3 separate regions of the Homo sapiens genome follow, and regions 1 and 2 are each linked to region 3. Evidence: promoter capture Hi-C in human tissues and cell types (Jung and others, 2019). All regions are on one chromosome and are shown on one strand. Each heading gives the region's core, a stretch centred on a gene start or on the middle of the fragment in contact. The rest is flanking DNA. Distances are from core to core; before and after follow the strand shown.

Evidence for each region. The method cuts DNA at HindIII sites, captures the fragments that hold promoters and counts their contacts. A contact is called where the count stands out against the background at its distance.
Region 1: a contact is called between a fragment that was not itself captured here and the fragment with the promoter of TPBG in region 3, in 3 of the 25 tissues and cell types used here (dorsolateral prefrontal cortex, hippocampus and spleen).
Region 2: a fragment that was not itself captured here is called in contact with the fragment with the promoter of TPBG in region 3 in 2 of the 25 tissues and cell types used here (H1 embryonic stem cells and aorta).

The regions. Positions count from the first base shown.
Region 1 is chr6:82,431,317-82,434,457 of GRCh38, reverse strand. No RefSeq gene overlaps it. Among named protein-coding and RNA genes, the nearest start is that of TPBG, 69 kb to the right of the region's middle. The HindIII fragment of the contact is 7,212 bases long and covers 1-3,141 here.
Region 2 is chr6:82,455,080-82,458,010 of GRCh38, reverse strand. No RefSeq gene overlaps it. Among named protein-coding and RNA genes, the nearest start is that of TPBG, 93 kb to the right of the region's middle. The HindIII fragment of the contact is 4,770 bases long and covers 1-2,931 here.
Region 3 is chr6:82,362,019-82,365,081 of GRCh38, reverse strand. It overlaps TPBG (trophoblast glycoprotein), which reads right to left and starts at 1,265. Exons shown (of 2, transcript NM_001376922.1): 1 at 1,174-1,265; 2 at 1-459. The coding sequence starts at 120. It overlaps LOC105377875 (a long non-coding RNA gene), which reads left to right and starts at 1,425. Exons shown (of 3, transcript XR_942738.4): 1 at 1,425-1,470. RefSeq lists enhancers at 1-655, 807-1,318, 1,319-1,832. The HindIII fragment of the contact is 6,837 bases long and covers 261-3,063 here.

The DNA.
Region 1 (3,141 bases), core at 288-2,787, 69 kb before region 3:
TAGAAATATTTAGGAGGCTGCTGGAGCTAGAAATACAGGTTAAGAAATCCTAACTCTGTTTGTGACAGCTGAAGCCCAGAGTATGGCTGAGATTGCCCAGGGAGTGTGTCAAATGAGAAGAGGAAGAAGAGCATAAGGGAGATGCCAAGTAAAGTAGGACCAAAATGTGTTCACTGGATTGATTCTGCAAGGTCATGAGCAATCTTTGCAAGAGCAATTTCCAAGAAGTACAGTAGATGCAGGCAGATTGCAGTGGGAATCAATACATTAGGGAAAGGAGGTGTCTTTATAATCAGTTGCCTGCAGGTACCTGTGGGTTTTATGTGCCAGCCAGTTATAGCGTCAGGGGTGGGAAAACTGCACATGCTCTTCACTGAAAATGAAAAGATGATGGTGTCAGGACTCTGGATATTTGGAGACATTTGCCTTGAGAGTTGAAGGAAATTTATAATACCTGCATTATTTGTTTAAACTCTAAGGGATAGCAAACCTATTTCAGATACAGTGATTTTTTTTCTACCTATCTGTAAGATTCAAATAATTTGAATGAAGAAAAGCTTTATGGGACTATTTACTTTGAATTTATCATTTATCAGGAAATGGGAAAATCCTAACTTTGTCGTGGTTTTTATAAAAGAGTGGTGGTGTATGTATGTGTAAGGGATGGCATAGGTAGGCAGTGAAGACACAGAGAGGGTAAGTATAGATACTGGCTAGCTCTTTTGTGTCCAGTGAGAATGCTGATAATATGGCATTTCCAAAGCAATGGAAATGTATTGTATTCCCAAAAGAGATGGGGATACACAGCCGAATCTGCCATATTACCTGAAAATATCTCCAACTGAGTTAGAGAGTTGGGTCACTATGACTCTGTCTCTGGGTAATCCATTGATGAAAAGGAGGGCCCAGTGCTGCATTACCATTAGGAACTGGTTGGAGGGGAGATTATGGCAAGAGAATGTGTTGGAAATAAGTTCATGCAGTCAGTAGGTATCTCTTTTCCTGTATCTTGATGCAGTTTCCCTTAGTCATCTCTCTTGGAAATCATCAAAATAATGACACTGATTTATAATATTTAACAGTTCAGGAGCTCCACATCCCATAGTTGGCATTTCTTGCTAACTGAAAAGGGAGAACTTGGGGGTTGAAGGTAGAACCTGGGTTTCCTATAACAAAATGCATTTCTTAAGGCATAATAAGAGGTTCATTCTTTTCAAGACTCTGGGTATTAAACATTCCAATGTTCTATTTAGGGGTTCAGTGAGAATAATTATTGAAATCTCTCCTGTGAGGAAAGTATAATAAAGAAGTTTCCAGTTTTTGCAGTGTCGCCAAATAAGGTTTGCTAAACAATGTATGTGTATTTATAAGGGACCAATATAAATTCTTAATTAAGTTGTATAATGGAGTCATCGTTAATCTTTATCCTAGCTCAAAGGATTTGAAGTTGCTTCACCTAAATGTTTTTTGTTGTTGTTCTGTGGGTGTTCTGAAATGTTGAGGAAAGCTACCCACTCAGAGAAGGTCTCATAAAGCCTAGGGGCACAGATAAGCAACCGTCCTGGTACCTGGCCTCTGCAGAGGTGCTTGCTGATGACATATCAATGAAAGGAGCAACAAACAAGATCCCTGGGTGTAGATTGCCCATGCATGTAAGAAGCATGACCCATGCTGGCAAGGCTGTAGACAGCCAGGTCAGGGCTTGCAAGGCCAATGATGGCCACGCTTGCAGGAATGAAGGATGGTGCTCAGCTCCCTTCCCATTTGTGAACATTTGAACACTGCCCCTCATGGTGTCCTTGGTGGCTTTCATGCCATATGTGAGGTGCAGGAGTCCTGGCAAGGTCACCCATGAGGCCTTCTACCTATACATTTTCACAGTCCTTTCTTCTATAGAGTGTTGCAGCTCTCTACTTCTTCCCCACGCTCCACCTCAGCCTGAGGGAATATTTTCTAGCCTGGGACAAATCCTCCTCTTTTCTGCCTGCATTTTGAACGGAGATACAAATTTCTGTTCTTTTAAGTCTCTTGTGAAAAAAAGAAATCCTTCTTACCATCAAACCCAGAGCTTTAATTAATCAGAAGCCAGTTCTCCTTTTCATAGAGGGCAAAGACAGTTTAAACTTTAAGCCCTTCCAGAACAGTCAAGATAGAGGGGAAAAACAAAATAGCTAATTGCCGTATTAAAGCAGCTTGTTAATATCCTGCCTACGTAGCAAAAATCTATGTTGTGTGTTTTGTCAGAGTTTAAGCCTATGGAAGACCCAAGCCAACATATTACTTAGGAAAAAATAGACATATCACTGGAAAATGTACATAAACTGATTGGTTTTGCGCAGGCAAACATGCAGGTTATGAATTCGGCATTTGCAGGTTATAAATTCAGCATTTCCCTTCATAATTCACAGGCAGGCATCGTAATGGTTTTCTTTCTTTCTTTTCTTTTCTTTTTTGTAGATTTGAGTTAAAGGCCTCTATTTGACTCACCCCTGTTGTCATTTTACATCAAAATGTTAAAATGCCAGATTTGGGGTAACTAAGCCATGGTATACCTGTTTCATTCACAAAGGAGTCTAAAGGTTTTTGCAGAAGGATCAAATACTATTTAGACTAAACTATAAAAAGTAAGTGCTTGATGGAAGAGACCTCATCCTGGTGTCCCACCTGCTTTAATATTGATTCAATAGCAACCTTCATCTTTAATATTTAAAAAGTCAACATTTGATTTTGATAGTAGAGTGGCCTGGAGCCTGGTGCGCCTTCTCTCTGGGGTGTGCTCTGCTTGCAACTGACATGCTTTCCTCTCATAGGTCAATCCATAAGTTTTGTTTTTGGCAGGCAACAAAGAAGAAAGAAATAACACATTTCACTTTCACTGTGTCAAGAATTCTTATCAAGAGTGTTTTCACATTGTTGAGCAAAATAAAAAGAATACCACTTTTTAAAACTCACAGAACTGGATTTCCATCTGAACACTCTGGCTGTTTGATATTTCTTTTCTCCTCTCTGCCCCTTCCACTTCCCACCAAAACACTTTTTCCAGGTATATCCATACTTCACTTAAATCTTAATTTATCAGTCAGGCTTTCTTTCATCACCCTAGGGCCAGGTGAGGAGATAATTTAGGAGGCTACTGAAGAA
Region 2 (2,931 bases), core at 405-2,904, 93 kb before region 3:
ATATCCCACCAAACTAAGCTTCATAAGCAAAGGGGAATAAAATATATTCTGGACAAACAAGCACTAAGGGAATTATTTACCACTAGACTGGCCTTACAAGAGATCCTTTAGGGAATTCTAAACATGGAAATGAAAGAATGATACCTCCTACCATGAAAACACACTTGAATACATAGCCCACAGACCCTATAAAGCAGCCACACAATATAAACTACAAAGCAACCAGCTAGGAACTTCATGATAGGATCAAATGTCACATTTCAGTATTAACTTTGAATGTAAATGGTTTAAACACCTCACTTAAAAGGCACAGAGTGGCAAGTTTGATTAAAAACAAAATGTAAGAACTATCTATCTGGTGTCTTCAAGAAACCTATCTCACACATAAAAAAAAAAAAAACCCATGAGCTTAAAGAGTTGGAGAAAGATCTACTATGCAAACAGAAAACAAAAAGGAGCAGAGGTGACTATTCTTACATCAGATAAGACAGACTTTAAACCAACAACAGTAGAAAAAAACAAAGAAGGGTATTACACAATGATAAAGGGTTCAATTCAGCAAGAAATCTTAACTATCCTAAATATATATGCACCCAACAATGGAGCATCCAGATTACTAAAGCAAATACCTCTAGACTTATGGAAAGACTTATATAGCCACACAGTAATAGCAGGGGACTTTCATACCCCATTGACAGCATTAGACAGATCATTTAGGCAGAAAACTAACAAAGACATTCTGGACTTAAAAACTCAACACTTGACCAACTAGGCCTAGCAGACATCTACAGAATACTCCACCATTAACTATACAATATACATTCTTCTCATCTGCACATGGAAAATACTCTAAGATTGACTACATACCCAGCCATAAAGCAAGTTTCAACAAATTTAAAAAATTGAAAACACAACAACGATAATCTCAGAACACAGTGGAATAAAAATAGAAATCAATACCAAGAAGGTCTCTCAAAACCACACAATTAGATGGAAATTAAATGAAAGAATGATACCTGCTACAACAAAAATACACTTAACTTGCTCCTGAATGACTTTTGGGCAAACAAGAAAATTAATTCTTTGAAATAAATGAAAACAGAGACACAACATACCAAAATCTCTGGAATGCAGTAAAAACAGGGTTAAGAGGAAAGTTTATTCCACTAAATGCCTATGTCTAAACATTAGATCTCGGCCAGGCGCGGTGGCTCACACCTGTAATCCCAGCACTTTGGGAGGCTGAGGTGGGCGGATCACAAGGTCAGGAGATCGAGACCATCCTGGCTAACACGGTGAAACCCCATCTCTACTAAAAAAAAAAAAAAATACAAAAAATTAGCCAGGCATGGTAGCAGGCACCTGTAGTACCAGCTACTCAGGAGGCTGAGGCAGGAGAATGGCGTGAACCCAGGAGATAGAGCTTGCAGTGAGCCAAGATTGTGCCACTGCACTCTGGCCTGGGCAACAGAGCGAGACTCTGTCTTAAAAAAAAAAAGAAAAAAAAAGTTAGATCTCAAATTAATGATCTAACATCACTGCCAGAGGAACTAGAAAAGCAGAAACAAACCCCAACACTAGCAGAAGAAAAGAAATGACTAAAATCGAAGTGGACCTGAACAAAATTGAAACTCAAAAATCCATAAAAATAATCAACAAAACCAAAAATTGGTCATTTGAAAGGATAAACAAGATTGATAGACCACTAGCTAGATTAATAAAGAAAAAAAGAGAGAAGATCCAAATAAGCACAATCAGAAATGACAAAGGTGACATTACAACTGATCCCACAGAAATATAAAATATCCTCAGAGACTATTAGGAACACCTTTATGCACATAATCTAGAAAATCTAGAGTTAATAAATAAATTCTCGGAAACACACTATCTCCCATGATTGAATCAGGAAGAAACTGAAACTCTGAACAGACCAATATCAAATTCCAAAGTTGAATTGCAATTTAAAAAACCTACCAACCAAAAAAAAAAAAAACCCAGACCAGAAGGATTCACAGCCAAATTCTACCAGACATACAAAGAAGAGTTTGTCCCAATTCTACTGAAACTATTCAAAAAAAATTGAGGACGAGGGACTCCTCCCTAGCTCATTCTACAAAGACAGCATCACCCTAATACCAAAATCTGGCAAAGACACAATGAAAAAGGAAAACTATATTCCAATATTCCTGATGAACGTAGATGAAAGAATCCTCAGCAAAATACTAGCAAATAGAATCCAACAGCACATCAAAAAATCAATTCACCATGATCAAGTAGTGTTCATTCCTGGCATGCAAGGTTGGTTCAACATATGCAAATCAATAAATGTGATTCACCATAAACAGAATTCAAAATACAATTGAAAGCTTTATCAATAAACCATGATAAAGGTTTTATGTGATTCACATAAACAGAATTTTTAAAAAACATATGATCATCTCAATAGATGTGGAAAAAACTTTTGATAAAATCCAATATCTCTTTATGATAAAAACCCTCAATAAACTACACATCAAAGGATCATACCTCAAAGTAATAAGAGCCATCTATGTCAGTTTTTGCAGAACTAGAAAATCTATTCTAAAATTCATATAGAACCAAAAAACAGCCCCAAACAGCCAAAGCAATCCTAAGCAAAAATAACAAAGCCAAAGGCATCACATTACCCAACTTCAAAATATACTGTAAGGTTACAAAAATAAAAACAGCATTATATTGGTACGAAAATGGACACATAGACCAGTAGAACAGAATAGAGAGCCCAGAAATAAAGCCACACACCTACAGCCATCTGATGTTTGACAAAACCAATAAAAATAATCAATGGGGAAAGGACTCCCTATTCAATAAATGGTGCTAGGATAACTGGCAGCCATATGCAGAAGAATGAAATTGGATCCCTACCTTTCACCATATGCAAAAATCAACTCA
Region 3 (3,063 bases), core at 16-2,515:
GGAGGATGCCGAGGAGGTGGGAGAAGACGAGGAGACCCAGCCCAGGAGTACCAGCGCTAGTCGCGCCAGCCGCAGACGCCCGTCCCCGGCGGCGGGGCCCCGGGAGCACCCCCCAGGCATCGCGGCTCGCGTTTCCCCGGAGCTGGGCTGGGACGGCGCCCGCTCCGAAGGCTCGGGAGGCTGGGCCCGGAGGGCGCGAGCCGGCGGAAGCGTCTGGAAAAAAAAAACTTTCCTCTCGTGGAACCGAGGGAGTGGCGCCGCAGCCGGAACTTGGCTAACCCCCTCGCCACCGGGCGCTTCCCTCAGGGGCCGATTCCCCCGCCCCTTCCCTCCAGAAAGTACGCACGGCGGGTCGGGACGCTCCGCTCCGCGCTCCTGCTCCCGCTCCTCTTCCTGCCGCCGCCCTGGTGCCACCTCTTCGCCTCTTGTTGGCGCCCCTCGCTGGATCCTCTGAGGGACCTGGGACAAGCAGGAGAGAGGCGTGAACAGCGGTGGCTGCCGCGGCTTCCGGAGTGCAAAAACCGGCCTTTTCGAGTCTAGTCGTCTCCAGTCTGTCCCAGAGACCTCCTTCCAAAAGCCCGCCCCGGCCTCGCCTCCCCAACCCCTCCGGTCACTTTTACTCCGGAGGGGGACGCGCATCCGACACCCAGACCGCAAAGTCTTCCTTCTTCCCTGGCCCACACTAAATAAACCCGACCGGCCTCCCGCCCTCCGCCTTTCCCGAGGAGACTCGTCTCCCGCGTCTAACTTACCGCTTAATCCCCAATTCCTTCCCTACCAAACTTCTCCCTCTCCCGTTCCTTCCTGCACCGCCTCGGCGGAAGGTCGGCCTCCGGGTGTCTCCGCCCCCGCCCAGACCTCTCCACCAGGTCCCGGTTAGGATGCGAGGGAAGTTTCAGGTTACAGGACTTTTTGATCTCTTTTTGTACCTTCTCGCATTAGCAGGAAGTGGAGCTACAACTGTCGCCCCCCAGCCCGCGCCCCGCCAGCCCCTCGGATCTCAAAGGGGTTCAAGTCATCTCCAAAGAGGAGGGGAGAGTCTGGGAACAAAGCAGCAGTGGGACTCGGGGTACAGTGGCAACCCGAACCAACCCTACTCTCCACCCGAGGATGGGGAGGGGCCCCAACGACGCCTCCCGGGTCTCTCCCAGGCCGCGGGCTCCCACTGCTCACCTCCGCGTCCGCCGCCTCCAGAACCAACTCTGAGTTCCACCAGAGTAGCGACGACTTCCCGGCTCCGCGTTGCGGGCGCCGACTCTCTTCGCACCCCAGCCCCTGGCCCAACCTCCCAACCTCCGCAGCTGGGAAAAACCAACCCGGGGGGCGGGGGAGGGCCAGGACTGTCGGGGAGATTCCCGACGCGCGGCCAACCTCGGCAGCCGTAGGTAGGGGGATTTAAGAAGAGAGACTAGGGGAGCTGGGCTGCGCGCCTCCTCCTGGTGGAAATTAACGAGGAATGTGCCGGAAAAGGTGAGGGAATCCCTTTCTCTCCCCCCTCCCCGACATCCTTGGGTGGTTCCTCATTTTGCATACTGTATTTACCTTGGACTGGAGCAAAACCGCTGGTGAATCTCGTGGAATTCACCCTGATTCAGGCACCTTTGGCAGTGACGAGATAGATTTAGGCATGACAGAGCAGCGCGAAGCAGCAGCAGAAAGAAATGAGCTGAAAATCTACTGCGGCAGCAGCAAAGGCACGGCAGGTTGTATGGAAGCTTCAGAAGCTCTCCCCATCAAAGTGGTACTTGAGGCCGCAAACTTCAGATTTAGGTGTAATTAATGCCTTCCCGCCTGTCCCCCCCGCCCCCTCACTTCTTGGGTAGTGATGGAACTTGTGAAGAGAGCGCGCCAACTTTAAGAGAGAGAGAGAGAGAAAGAAAAAAAAAAGATTAGTGGAGAGGAGATTCATTCCTGATTCATTAGCTTTTCTCTTACCAAAATTAAAAGCAGATGGAAGAGAAAGGCAGCCAAAGGCATCCCAGAAACAAAAGGCAAATAGCAAAGACTTGAGTCTCCCGGAAAGCGGACCCGCCCCCCTCCCCAGATGTAGCGCGGTGTGTCAAGTCACTTCTGTGGAGAAAGCTCCAAGGATGAGGAGTGGGGATTGCAGGAGCTGACCTGGGAGAGAAGTTTGGTTTCAAAGTCGATTGTCCCAGGGGGCATCTGGCAGATGGTGATGGAGAGGATGGGGTTGGGGAGAGGGACAAATTGAATGGTTGGTTACCGGAAGGATCTGTTATTATACCAGACAGGTTTTGGGTTCTGAAAGCCCTATCGTTGCTCTCTGTAACTCCACATCCCCTTTGTCCCAATTAAATAATTTCCCCGAAGGGATAAGAAGGTTCTTCCAGGCTTCTTCATTTTAGAGAGAAAATGGCAATTAGGGAAAACATGGTTCGGAAATTTAAGACCTGGTCGTATTAAAAAAGATCAAATAAGGATCCTGAGGCTTGTGCCTGGGACATGTGCCTTTAGTGTGAAGAAAGACCCCAACTCTCCAACGGACGCCTGATTACTTTTATAGAAAGAGATAGTCTGCAAAGCCGACAGCAAAAATGGCTCAGACAAAAGCTGAAAACACTGGAAACTGCAGAGATTTGTGCACAAAAGCTGGTTTCATTAATTTGCATCTTCAGCACGTTTATCTACATCTCTTTTCTTATTTTTAAAAGTGTTTTGCAACATGAATGTAAAACACTTTGAAAAAGAATCTCTAAAGCTGTAGTCATGTTCTGTATCCGGATTGTGGTGGTGGTTACATAAACCTATACAACGTGTTATAACTCATAGAACTTTGTAAACCAAAAGAGTCAATTTTACTGTATGATAAGTTTAAAAATAAAATTAATTACTCATTGGAAAAAACCTGTAATAATGCTCTGGCATGGTATTAACTCTGGTCCTGATCTGAAGACCAACTGCTTTGTTAGGAGAGTGAGATACACTTTAGAATTTAGAAACATAATATATATACTCATCTGATTTTCAAGACAACTCAGAGGCAAGATAAATATTGTTAGTATTATTGCTTGTTGCTATTATTGTTGTTGTTCTGTTGTACAA